Linked DNA regions of Homo sapiens: all the other regions are linked to region 2. The links are contacts of gene promoters, found by promoter capture Hi-C in blood cells and fetal thymus (Javierre and others, 2016). All regions are on one chromosome and are shown on one strand. The core of a region is centred on a gene start or on the middle of the fragment in contact, and the rest is flanking DNA. Distances in the headings are between cores, read along the strand shown. Region 1 overlaps RAB3C (RAB3C, member RAS oncogene family). Region 2 holds the start of GAPT (GRB2 binding adaptor protein, transmembrane). Region 3 has its middle 170 kb from the start of PDE4D-AS1. Region 4 overlaps RAB3C (RAB3C, member RAS oncogene family).

The links. The method cuts DNA at HindIII sites, captures the fragments that hold promoters and counts their contacts. A CHiCAGO score of 5 or more calls a contact.
Region 1: a fragment that was not itself captured here is called in contact with the fragment with the promoter of GAPT in region 2 in 6 of 17 cell types (M1 macrophages, M2 macrophages, monocytes and 3 more); the score reaches 7.9 in M1 macrophages.
Region 3: a contact is called between a fragment that was not itself captured here and the fragment with the promoter of GAPT in region 2, in 9 of 17 cell types (M2 macrophages, M1 macrophages, M0 macrophages and 6 more). The highest score is 10.3, in M2 macrophages.
Region 4: a fragment that was not itself captured here is called in contact with the fragment with the promoter of GAPT in region 2 in 1 of 17 cell types (M2 macrophages); the score reaches 7.0 in M2 macrophages.

Annotation. Positions count from the first base shown.
Region 1 is chr5:58,772,018-58,775,126 of GRCh38, reverse strand. All of the region lies in intron 3 of RAB3C (RAB3C, member RAS oncogene family), which reads right to left. Among named protein-coding and RNA genes, the nearest start is that of RAB3C, 190 kb to the right of the region's middle. The HindIII fragment of the contact is 4,726 bases long and covers 1-3,109 here.
Region 2 is chr5:58,489,963-58,493,319 of GRCh38, reverse strand. It overlaps GAPT (GRB2 binding adaptor protein, transmembrane), which reads right to left and starts at 1,885. Exons shown (of 3, transcript NM_001304431.2): 1 at 1,779-1,885. The HindIII fragment of the contact is 6,945 bases long and covers 1-3,357 here.
Region 3 is chr5:58,864,147-58,867,220 of GRCh38, reverse strand. No RefSeq gene overlaps it. Among named protein-coding and RNA genes, the nearest start is that of PDE4D-AS1, 170 kb to the left of the region's middle. The HindIII fragment of the contact is 3,602 bases long and covers 1-3,074 here.
Region 4 is chr5:58,792,026-58,795,439 of GRCh38, reverse strand. The region is part of intron 3 of RAB3C (RAB3C, member RAS oncogene family); the gene reads right to left. Among named protein-coding and RNA genes, the nearest start is that of RAB3C, 210 kb to the right of the region's middle. The HindIII fragment of the contact is 1,124 bases long and covers 1,074-2,197 here.

The DNA of each region.
Region 1 (3,109 bases), core at 42-2,541, 280 kb before region 2:
AGCACTTCTCTCTCAGATGATTGCAATCACTTCCTAACCAGGGTTCCCACTTCTTCCTCCACCCCACTCTACTCAATTCATAACACAGAAGCTGGAGGGATCCTCTTAAATATATTGGACCATGCCACTCCTCTACTCAAAACCTTCCCACCAGCTTCCCATTTTCCCCAGAGCAAAAGCCAAAGTCCTTAGTCACGATGCTTCACAAGGCCCTCAAGATCTGGTCCCCTGACCTGTATCCTACTAAAGTTCCACCTCTCGCTCAGCTCCTGCCACACAGTCTCCTTTGCTTCTTGATTTGTGCTAAGGACACTCTGCCCTGACACAGGACGTTCACATGGCTGTTTCCTCTGCTTTGAATGCAGAGTCTTCACTTGGCTTCTTTACCTCCTTCATATCATGGCTTGAATGTCACCTATATCTAGCTGCTTTATTTAAAGTAGCATCCCTACTCCCTCTCCCTCCCTAGTAGACTCTGCCCCCATTCCCTGTTTGTATTTTTTCTAAGAAATTTATAAACATCTATTTTAAATTCATTTATTTGTATCCCTCATTACCTTATTATCTGCATCCACCCACCTCCATTAAAGGGCAGATGTTCTATATGTTTTTCCCCACTAATATCTCTGTAGTGCTAGAAACAGTGCCTGGCACATAAAAGTTGCTCAGGACATACTAGTTGTAGGAGACAGAGACAGAGACTTAAGCATGTTTGTGGGCTAAAAGGTAGAAGATGGAAAGAGAGGTACAGAAGAAAGGGTATATAAATGATCCCAGAGGAGAGGGGAGCAGATATTAATAGAATCAAGAGCTTAGGTGGAAGCACTGGCCTTGGAAAGGCAGAGAATTCTCCCTCCCTCCCAGGTATGTGTACAGGAAGCAAGGATAGATCTGATACCAGGTAAGAGAGAAAGAGAAACTGGTGCTTACCAGTTACATTCATGAGTGAATTAATTTATTCATTCATTGATCCATTTCAACATACTATGTCTCAGGTGCTACACTAGGGAGTAGGGGTACAGAGTTGATGCCCTCTATTTTCTCAGTGATGTCAGAGCAAGGCCAGTAGCTGAGAATGCAAAGGGAGGAGAGCTCCAGGAAGCATGTGAAGAGTGTAGAGTTTGGAACAGCTGCTCTGGGCACTGTTAATGGAAGGTAGTTAGGACACGTGAAAAGACTGCTGAGCAGCATGGAGAGCCCAGCTGAGGTTGTCCTGGTGCCAGCTGGCAGAGGTATCCGATTTTCTCCAGCAGCATTTGCAACTTGGGAGCAGAAGCAGAAAAAAAGCAGATGGTTGGAATAAATTGGTCCTGGGAATTGCTAGAAGAGGATGTTGTAGGGGGACTAGGGAGTGATGGGATCAACTGATCAGCCCCTAAACCTAATGGTTCACTGCGTCTTCATCTTGATGCTGTTCACTTGATTTTGAGGAATGCCACTGATTGACAGCTGTGCCTCCTTTCCCCCAGAGCTCTTGAATCAGTACCAGCCTCAATCAAGGTACCCAGTGTGAACTGCTGCACAAACTCTGAATAACCAAAATGTTGGTATTTACTCATTAGAGCTCTTCTGACTCCTCACAAATTATTCAAGGGGAGTAGCCACCTACTTTCCACACAAACACACCTTGAAAGCTGACTCTTTGCTATCCGTTAGACATTTCTGGCCCACTCCTTGGTGAATTCTTACTTATTTTCCTTCTGAAACAGGTAGTTGCAGTCCTATGATGGGGAGTGACTTGAATGCTATTCCAAGTTCATTTAGGACAGTCCCTTATTTGGGTTCTCAGAAACATGCTTTTACTAATAGGGGTTCTTCCTTGCACCTCTTTCTGTGTATGAGTCTCTGCTGCCTTAACAATGAATACTAAGTAGGAGCAGTATGTACTCCATTCTAAGCCACATCTATAGTGGTTAGTCCCCTGGCCCTAGGCTTATAACTTGCCTTTATCTCTTCATGTGACTGGTTTACAAAATGCCACTAAGCTGAGCTAGGTTGGCTTATCCCACTGTTGGCCTAGCCCTCTTAGGACTTTATCTGAAATCTTTATGACTACTTTCCCAGATACATAGTGTGTGTCTATTGCTCTCCTGGGAGAATCTATGTAGGCTTCTAGGTCAGGTTGGTCAGACGATGCATGAAAAGCATAAAATGCCTGCTTCTTTTGGGTTGTTCTTCCTTCCTACCTAAAACCTGACACTTTCACCCTTGGCTTCATGGTCCTGTGAATGCAACATGATTTTTCTTTGTTACTGAAAAAGATTTTACTTCTCCACTCTTATGATTCTCTATACAATAGACCTATAATTTCCTTACCTGATATATAATCTTTAAGCAATTTAAGATTTTTGGCATATGAATGCTGAAAATTAGAAGAATGCAAAGATTTAGATTATTATGCTGAAATGCAGTCATCTGGAATAGTTAGAAATTTAGAATTCAAGGAAATAAGTTGAAGTGTGCTTTCATGGGATGCCCAGAAATAAGATAAAAATCAAAAGACAAGCACGATGAGCCTTCTCTCTCGTCTTCTTTGTTCTCATGACAATGAAAAGATTTATTCAACCTTGGAGAACATTCTCCAGGGACTTGGCTAAGGCTGTCCACCTCTGTCCATAGTGGTCTGAGAGAGCTGCTGCATCACTGTGGTGCATTAGTCTTTCTTCCCTGAAGTCCTTTCTTAACACACAGACTATTTCCAGTATTGATTTTCTGCCCTTCTATTCTAATGGAGAGACTCACTTAAAGAACAATAATCTCACAAATGTTCACCCTACCAGGATCTCCAAACACCCCATCCCATGTGACTTTATTTTAATACCATCATCAGGTTCATAGTCTTGAAGCACTACATTGGTCCTGTCAGTCCCTTGCTGAAAAACCTTCACTAGTTCCCTATTGTTAACCAAGTACAGTCAATTCTCCTGGTTCTGCCATTCAAGACTGCACTTATCAAGCCTCTGCTCACATCCATGTCGCATTAGCCCATGCATTTCATATAGCCAAGCCCAGAGTCAGCTTGAGAGGACTATAGAAGTGTATGGATACCTAGAGGTGTGCTTTTATTGGGAGTTACCAGTGCAACCACCTAGCATATTTCTGCTTTACT
Region 2 (3,357 bases), core at 636-3,135:
ATGTTCCATTGTGATTTTATCAACAAAACATTATTACTGTATATTTTCAGTCTAGACATAGACATAGATCCAACAGTGCCTGTGAAATGATTATTATCATCTATGGAATGTTATTATCATCAATAATGTTTAGTTAAGAGTTTCAGCTTTTAAAAACTGTTACAGGGATTATCTCATTTAATCCTATAGCTGCTATATGTAGTGGGTACTATTCATATCACCATTTTATAGATAAGAAGAGAGGCTTAAAGAAGTTAAGTAACTTCCTTACAACCAAAATGTGACTGAATGAGAATTCAGGTAAAAATTTCCCCAAAATATTATTTATCCAAATATCTGTAACATGCTACTAAGTGCATCAGTCAGAAAATTTGTATAGCTTGATTAGCTCTGAGGTTCTCGAAGGTTGGAAATCATATATTATTTACCTTTGTATTACCAACACCAGCATTAGACACAGAATGACTAATCTATTAGACATTTGTTAATGAATGAAGTAATCTCCTTATGGGATAATAATAGTAACAATGAGAAGAAAAATAGAAATTCACAAAGTGGTGCTCTGCTTTCAGTGAGTTTTCATGAAAAGTTTAATGGTAATGAACGTTCATAAATTTGTCCAAGGTTAGAATATATTAATATGCAAATATTTAATTTGACATTTCATAAAAGAAAATTAAATAAGATGTGCAGCTAATTTATACAATTTTTTGATAAAAATACAGGGACAAGCACCCCAGATGCAGAAACATTTTAATCTCCTTGGAATTTTTGGGAGTAATATTGAGGTTGAGAACTGTATGGTCCGCCACATAAGATTTACAATCTGCAGGGTCCCTCCTTTATAAGGCCAGCCGTGCTTGTGTTCAAGGACAAAAGTTTAGCCAAATGACTTTAATCATTAGGACCTCATTTCCTGTCTGAAACAGATGAGCACCAATTATCTGCAAGATATTTTATGGTATACATGGTTAATGATTTAAGAAGTTATTTGCCAGAATATTTGAAATAAATTTACAAAATACACTTTAAGTATTGATTGAAATTAATCAACTTTTTGAAAGATACTAGGCCTGCAACAGAAGTCACGGTGAGGGTTGAGGAAGGCTAACTATTGTCACTTCTGTAGCTGAGGATAAGGCAATAAATTACTCTCTTAATTTTTAAGAAGAAAAGGCATTTTTACCATCTATGTTATTCTATGTAGAGTAGAAATTCTGGTACATCCAAAATATTAAAATTGTTTGTCTAAGAGATATTTACCAAGATAAAGACAAGAAGACTTTTTACAGAAAAAGAAATGCATCATTTTCTTCGAAATAACATTAGAGGAAAAAACCTGTGAGACATGAACAAAGACCTACTATAATGAAAAACATATTTTAAACAATAACCATTCAAATATAGTTTAACACTTAAATAATGTTCACTTTGACCAGTTTGAAAGAAGACTCTGTTTTCATTTTGGAAAGCAGTTCCAACAGGTTACCTAACAATTTGACATTTTTCTTAAAATCGCAAATTGTTGAGAAACTTCAGGAATTTTCAAGTAAGAGAATGCCCTGCTGTTTGGAAACAAGGTAACAGCAAAGCATAATCATATTGTAAAGAAACATTAACATCACTCTCAGTTTGTAAATTGGGTTTCCCCCTTACAGCTACGTAAGGCATTTTTTTCTAAAAACTGTAGTAAGATAAAAATCATTGATTAATTAAAGACAAACTTGTTTCTTATAGTGTTTAATCATCCAAATACCTTAAATCAGGTTCTTACTTACCTCAAGATTGGTGTGTCAAGCTCTCTCTTTTGTTCTTTTGGTTATGTTTTAAACCTGCATTGGGTTAGAACTTGTTCCTCTTTTTCACTTTGGTGGGTTACTTCCTTCTTTCCCTCCTTCGTTCACGCTATTTAATACTTGCAAAGTTTCCTGGCTCTAGAGGAAGTCAGTATCAGATGCAGCAGAATTAAGATAAATGGCGTGAGGTTTTGAATAAGGAAGTCTGGCCCTTCATCTTTGTCAAGTAATAGTTTTTTAACTGTGTCAGAAAATAATACGTAAAGCCTACATGGTTTTTTATTTGGGCCATATTTGCAGTTCCCACTTTAATATCAATAAAAGTCACTTCACTTGTACTTTGATTTTTTAAAAAAAGAAATATTTTAATTGTAGTAACACATAGGTCTTGGGCTTTTATTATTATTATTATTATTTACTTGTGTTGCTAGACCAGTCCTCTCTTCAAATATTAATATTATGTACCAATGCTCCCAAGTTATAGCCATACAGGTCAAATCAGTGTCCCAATTTGGGTTTGGAAAATGTTAACGTTCTTTTAAATTTATAAATAGGAATTTCCTAAGGTATGTTTTGAGGCCCATTACCCCTGAGATATGCTAGCAGCTCTTCCATCAAGTAAATGTGGGGAATACTGCTTCCCTGGAGATTCATGGGTACATCAGCATGCTAAAGGCTCTCAGCAGTCTTACAGCCAGCAAACAAAATAAAACCAAATAAGAAAAAGAAATTGTTTAACTTTGCTTAATAATAGTAGTCAGTATGTTCCTAGCACTAAGTACTCCAAACCTTTTGTGTAATACTCAGCAAATCTTGGCAACAACCCTGTGAGGGAGAAAAACTGTTATTAGTCCTATTTTACAGAAGAGGAAACAGAAGCACACAGAATGATCACTTGCCCGACAGAGCCTGCAGTTTGCCCCCAGCACCTGTGTGCTAAACCACTGCACTGGCTGCCTTGCTAGATTGAGTAACATGTTTCCCACATAGATACGCTTACCAAGAGCATCTCTTGGAGTCCAACTCATGGGAACACACACAGTGGGAGATGCTGAATTAGACAAATTACAGATGAATTCGACAGATGAGATGACAAAGTAATGGAAAATTTGTCTTTTAAGTTGTCTTGGAACTTTTTGAACCACAGAGGATTAACTTTGCATAAGGTGGTTTTAAAAAAGAGGATTTAGTTACTGAAATAACTACTGGACATTGGAAGGACAGGACGTATTATTAACACTTGCTGAGCACTGACATTATGCCAGGCATTGTGCTAAGAGATGAGGATGCAAGAGTGAATAAGCTCCCTGCAGCACTTAAAGCCAAGTAGAGAGGCTGCTGCGCCCACAGAACATTTCAGATCAAAGTGATAATGCCTAAGAAAGACAGGATTATGGACAGGGACAGTGGAGGTAAAGGAAAGAGGCATCCAGCTCAGAGGGTGGTCAGGGAAGGCAAGACCTGAGCTAAGCCTCATAGAATAAGGTGTTAAGGCAGAATAGGGGTGTCCTGGACAAAAATCTTACAGTGAAGGAGGTTATGAAGTTGTGAAGCTATGAAC
Region 3 (3,074 bases), core at 476-2,975, 370 kb before region 2:
GGTGATTCTAAAATAAATGGTCTGTGGACCACACTCTGGGAAATACTACTCCAGTTACGTGGCTCTAACTAAAAAAAGGAAAGGTGACACATTATCCTTATTGTACTCCATCATAGTGCATCTTCAGTTTTTTTCTCTACCAATTTATATAAATCAGTTTCCTTGGATGTAGAGTTTATGTGTCCCAAGTTCATAATAATGTGGATTTCTTTTGCCTGGATTCTACCTTCCTTCTCTTTATTTTGAAAATGTTGCACCCCAAGCAGGCTATAAGGGCCAATCCAATGGCTATTTGAACACAGAGACTTCTTGTTCTACATCTAAATATATCCAGTTTCTGTATTAACAAATGCTTTTCTATTGTCCACAATAATAGATCTTAGAAACTTCTAGCTGTAGACTTCTTTATACAATGATGAGAAATAAAGTGTCTCCAGTTTTAGAAAAGATCAGTCAGAGAGTCACTGGGTGCATTCATTATCTATTGCAGCATAATGAATTATTCCAGATTATAACCGCTGAATATAATAAAACAAAACACATTATCTCACAGATTCTGTAGATTGAGAATCCAGGAGTAGGTTAGCTGGGTATTTCAGGCTCAGAGTCTCTTATAAGAATGTAATTAAGTTGTTGGCTGGACCAGCAGATTTCTCAAGGTTCAACTTAGGATAGATCTGCTTCCAAATTCATTCATTGGCTGTTACCAGGCTTAAGAAGATCTGCTTCCAAACTGAATCCCATGGCTTTCTCCACTGTGTGTCTGCCTCAATACATAGCAGCTGGCTTCCCCAGAATGAGAAGTCAAGAAAGAATGAGAATGTCCAAAAGTGGAAGCTGCAGTCTTTTATAACCGAATCTTGCAAAGGACATCTCATAGTCTCTGCTGCATTCTATTTGCTAAATCCATTCCACAACGAAGGGGAGGGAATTGTGTAAAGGTGTGTGGTAGGCATAATAATGGCACATATTAAAGATGTTCTTTAATCCCTGGAACCTGTGGATATGTCCCATTACATGGCAAAAGGGATTTTGCAATTGTGATTAAGACTATGGATCTGAAACTATGGTGATTGTTCTGGATTATCCAGGTGGGTCCAGTGTAATCATACGAGCCTTTAAAAGCAGAAGAGGAAGTAGGAAGAGGAAAGCAGAATGGATGCAGCAGAAGAGGGAGTCAGCGAGGTTCCAAGGTTGTAAGTTATTTGACATACTGTTGCTGGTGCTGGGATATAACGGTGATGACTGGAGGGAGGCCTCTTGGAGCTCATCAAAAGCATGAGAAGGTGCATAGACAAGACTCCAGGAGCAAAGACTGTCCTTGGGTGACAGCCTGCAAGGAACTAGGGACCTCATTCCTACAATCATAAGGAGCTGAATTTGTCCATCATTTTTTTTCCATGGTATCAGTTGTATTGTCTCCTCTTTCATTTCTGATTTTATTTATTTGAGGCCTCTCTCTTTTTTTTTTCAGTCAAGCTAATGATTTGTCAATTTTATTTTTTAAAAAACAACTATTATTTCGTTCATATTTTCTGTTGTTTTTATTTCTATTTCATTTATTTCTGTTCTGATCTTTATTATTTCATTCCTTCTACTAATTGTGGGCTTTTTTTCTTCTTTTTTTCTTCTTCTTCTAGTTCTTTGAGGTATAACATTAGGTTGTTTGGAATCTTCTTGTTTGATGTAGGCAATTATTACCATCAACTTTTCTCTCAGAACTGCTTTTACTGCATCCCATGAGTTTTAGTATCATGTTTTTCCATTTTTGTTTTTCTTAAGATATTTTTAAGTTTCTCTTTCATTTCTTCTTTGAACAATTAGTTGTTCAGGAACATGTTTAATTTCCACAAATTCATGAAGTTTCCATTATTTCTTTTATTGCTTTCTAATTCATACCACTGTGGTTGGAAAAGATACTTGATATGATTTTAATTTTCTTAAAATTTTTAACACTTGTTTTATCGCCCAAAATATGATCCATTCTGGGGAATCTTTCCTGTGTGCTTAAAAAGAATGTGTATTCTACTGCTATTGGATGAGATGTTCTATATATGTCTGTTAGGTCCATTTCATCTAAAGTATAGTTTAAGTCCAGTATTTCCTTATTGACTTACTGTCTGGATAATCTGTCCACTGTTGAAAATAGGGTGTTGAAGTCCTTTACTATTATTGTATTGCAACATATTTCTCTCTTGAAATTTATTAATATTTGTTTTACATATTTAGATGCTCTGATATTGAGTGCATATCTAGTTACAATTGTTACATCATCTTGATTGATTGCTCTTCTCATCATTATATAATGACTTTATCTTGTTTTAGTTTTTGATATAATGTCTATTCTATCTGATGTAAGTAAAGCTACCTCCACTTTATTTCGATTTCCGTTTGCAGGGAATTTTTTTTTTTGTATCATGTCAGTTTCAATCTATTTGCATCTTTAAAGGTGACGCAAGTCTCTTATGCGTAGCATATAATTGTGTCTCGTGGTTTTTTGTTTTTGTTTTTATTTTTATTTTTTTGAGACAGAGTCTTGCTCTTTCGCCAGGCTGGAATGCAGTGGTGTGATCTCAGCTCACTGCAACCTCTGCCTCCTGGGTTCAAGCGATTCTCCTGCCTCAGCCTCCTGAGTAGCTGGGACTACAGGCATGTGCCACCATGCCCAGCTAATTTTTGTGTTTTTAATGGAGATGGGGTTTCACCATGTTGGCCAGGATGGTCTCAATCTTCTGACCTTGTGTTCCGTCTGCATCAGCCTCCCAAAGTGGTGGGATTACAGGCATGAGCCATGATGCCCTGCCTGTCTTGTGTTTTTATTTAGCCAGTTACTCTATAAACTGTACTTGGTTCTAATGATGAGATCATGGGTTGAATTTAGGGTGTTCTTAATACTGAATAATTTACATTTTAAATCCAAGGATAGGTTGTTTCTGGCTAAAACCATTATATTTATGAGTCTGGCCTAGAGATCAAATGGAGAAAACAAATAATAAATCCCAAAGAATTGTTATTATATTCTTCTATGGCACACTGCCCTCAGAAGAATCTTTTGTCTTTTCTACTGACAATAC
Region 4 (3,414 bases), core at 386-2,885, 300 kb before region 2:
GAGGGGACAAATGCCAGGTGATAGAATGGAAATGGAACAGGGTGAGGACTTCCTTCATGTCCTGAACTCTGAGCTGTCTTTCAGAGTGGGAAACCCATAGTATTCTATAAGTATATTAGTCCGTTCTTATACTGCTAATAAAGACATACCCGAAACTGGGTAATTTATAAAGGAAAGAGGTTTAATTGACTAACAGTTCCACATGGCTGGGGAGGCCCCACAATCATGGCAAAAGGCAAAGGAGGAGCAAAATCACATCTTACATGGTGACAGGCAAAGAGAGCATGTGTAGGGGAACTCCCCTTTACAAAACCATCAGATCTCAGGAGACTTACTCACTATCCTGAGAATAGCATGGGAAAAACCCGCCCCCATGGTTCAAATACCTCCCACCGGGTGTCTCCCACAACACATGGGAGTTATGGGAACTACGATTCAAGATGAGATTAGGGCGGGGACACAGCCAAACCATATCAATAATCTTTTTCTAAATGAACTATCTGCATCAGGTTCACCTGGTGCTTGTTAGCAATGCAGATTCCTGGGCTCCACAGAACCTACTGAAGGGGAATCCCTAGGAGTAATCAGCATTTTAAATAAGTTCCCAGTGGTGATACATCCATACATCAAAATACAAGAAATACATTAGCTGAATCATTTGAGAAAGTAACTGAACTCCTCTGCGCCTCACTTTCTCCATCTGTAAAATGGGGGGAAAACCACTTTCATAGAGACGTTACGAGAATTAAAGCATCATTTAGTCCTTTGTCTATAATACTTAACACTTAATAAATGTTTTTTTAATAAATAATTAAAAACAGTGATTCTTACATGATGAAACTGAATAGATTGGTGAATATTCACACCGACTGGCATTTGAGGTTTAGTAAAGACACAGACAACAGAAGAATGTTTTTTTTTTTTAAAGCATAACTGGTTAGACAATCTGGACCACAACGAGCTTGGTCATGCCTGCTTCGGGGGGAAACTGGAAGTGTTATATATTGCTATTTTTTGTTTCATACAATCTTGCAGCCAGAAAAATCAGTAAGTTATCATGGTTCCCACAAGCTTCTGTGTTTTGTTTTGTGTCATGCCAGCTTTTTTTCTACTTTTCTTCCTCTGTTTTCTTTTAAATTGTAAATTCTGTCTGAAGAACCACAAAAAAAAAAGGAAAGAAAAGAAAAAGAAAAAAATGGGGGGCATTATTTAAGTAGAGAAAACAGTTTTATACACTTCTAAGGGAGAATCTAGTAATATATGAGGGTGTAAAAAGCACTGTGAATTTTCATTGCATTTGCTGGTATAACTTTAGTGACCTGCTGTAAGAATAGAAGGCCTTCCATTTTAATATACACCCTGCTGAGAAACTTGCTGCTGATTTATGACCTCTCAAACCGGAGGCTTCACATTCTGCATTTATACTTGGGAGAAATCATGGTTTCAGGAAAGGAGAAAGAGGATTTTATTCTCCTAACAATTAAATTCCAATTCTATATTAAGGTGATCTCCAAGATAAAATAAGAAGATAGACAATAAACTCACACAATAGAAATGTATAATCAGGACCATAGATATTTAATTGAAGTGGAATATTACAAGCATAGAGCTAGAAAAATGCAAATTCATCACCAATGATTCCTCCACCTAGATGACCATCAGAAATACACAGATGCTTTTAAAATGTAGATTCTTGGTCCTCATCCCAGACTTAGTGAGTCTCTCCAGAGATAAGGTTCAGAAATCAGACTTTTAAAAGCTCCCCACACTGGGACTACAAACTATATGTATGTGTGCATGTGTATATGTGTGTGTACATTTACTTATTCTGTACTCTGCCAAAGCAAAAAAAAAAAAAGTGGCAAAATGAAGTCTGTAACACTTAGGAATTTTTTTTTTTTTTTTTTTGAGGTGGAGTGCAGCGGCACGATCTTGGCTCACTGCAACCTCCGCCTCCTGGATTCAAGCGATTCTCCTGCCTCAGCCTCCTGAGTAGCTGGGACTACAGGCGTGTGCCACCACGCCCAGCTAATTTTTGTATTTTTAGTAGAGACAGGGTTTCACCATGTTGGCCAGGATAGTCTCGATCTCTTGACCTCGTGATCTGCCTGCCTCGGCCCCCCAAAGTGCTGGGATTACAGGCACGAGCCACCGCGCCCGGCCAGGAATTCTTAAAGTAGGAAACATAAGAGAAGCTTTTCCTCTGAGGGAATTCTGAAGAAATTTCTCTTTTGGTATTGTATCCACAGGCTGTACAGTTCAGCAAAGCCCTTAGGGCCCACTGAGAGGTTTGAGGCTGTGTGTCCCTTCTCTGCAGAGTGAACCAAATATTTTTCTGTTTGGGCTGCTGACTCCCCTCCATTTGTGACAGGGTTCTCCCTCAGGTACAAGCAATAAGAATGTGCATTGGACATACAGAATTTTAGAACAATAATATAACACTCTAAATATTTTTCTATTATTGCCATGTGCTAGCAAACATGAGAATCAAAACAATGTCAATGATAAAATACTCCTGCCCTCAAAAAATCTTTTCTTAGTGTAAATTCTAACAATTACTAACAATTAATTACATATATAATGATTATATATATATAAATCTTTTATTAAACTTTGTGTGTGTGTATATATACACAAGGTTTTATATATACACATACACACACACACACAAAGTTCAGTAAAAGAAGATTTTTACTGTGTTTGTTTCAGGCTATTATTATTCATTCCACATCACAATTATTAACGAAAATAGCTTGGCCATCTATAGGAAGGGTTGTTGGGAAACATTCTGCTCTGGAGTCGAATCTAGTAGGTATACTATCACTCCCCTTCATCTCCCCCCTCCCTCACCAAAATCAATGTTTCCATGTGTGGTTCACAGCTTCCGCCTCTGGCTCTAATTTCCACTGCACTGTACTAGTCCCTTGCATTTGCATCTGTTGCTCTCCTCTCTTTTGTTTCCACTTTCCCCTTTCCTTTGTAAAATTTCTTGCTTTTTTCCGTGCACTTGGTTCCTTCTTCAGATGGTTGGTTTGGACCATTTCTGCTAGCCTATGAGTAATCCCCATTACTGCATGAGGAAAAGGTTTTGCCCCCATAGCCATAGGGCTGTTATTGTTAGGTGCCTGGAAGCTGCTCCCTTCACCTTTTCCTTAATTCCTGGAAGTATTCCAGATATAGAAGCCACCAGGTTTATATATTTCCAAAGTAAACACTAACACAATTTTACCCATAATGCTAAATTATTATAATAAGCTCTGGTGGTGAATTTAATGAAGATAAAATGGAGATGGCTTGCCATGCAAAGAAACAAACCCTCCCATTATCAACTAATTTCCTCATATAAGATATTACTTTGAAAACTGTACAATGACACCATCTCACACTTATTTGTATAGTACTTGCTATTTCATT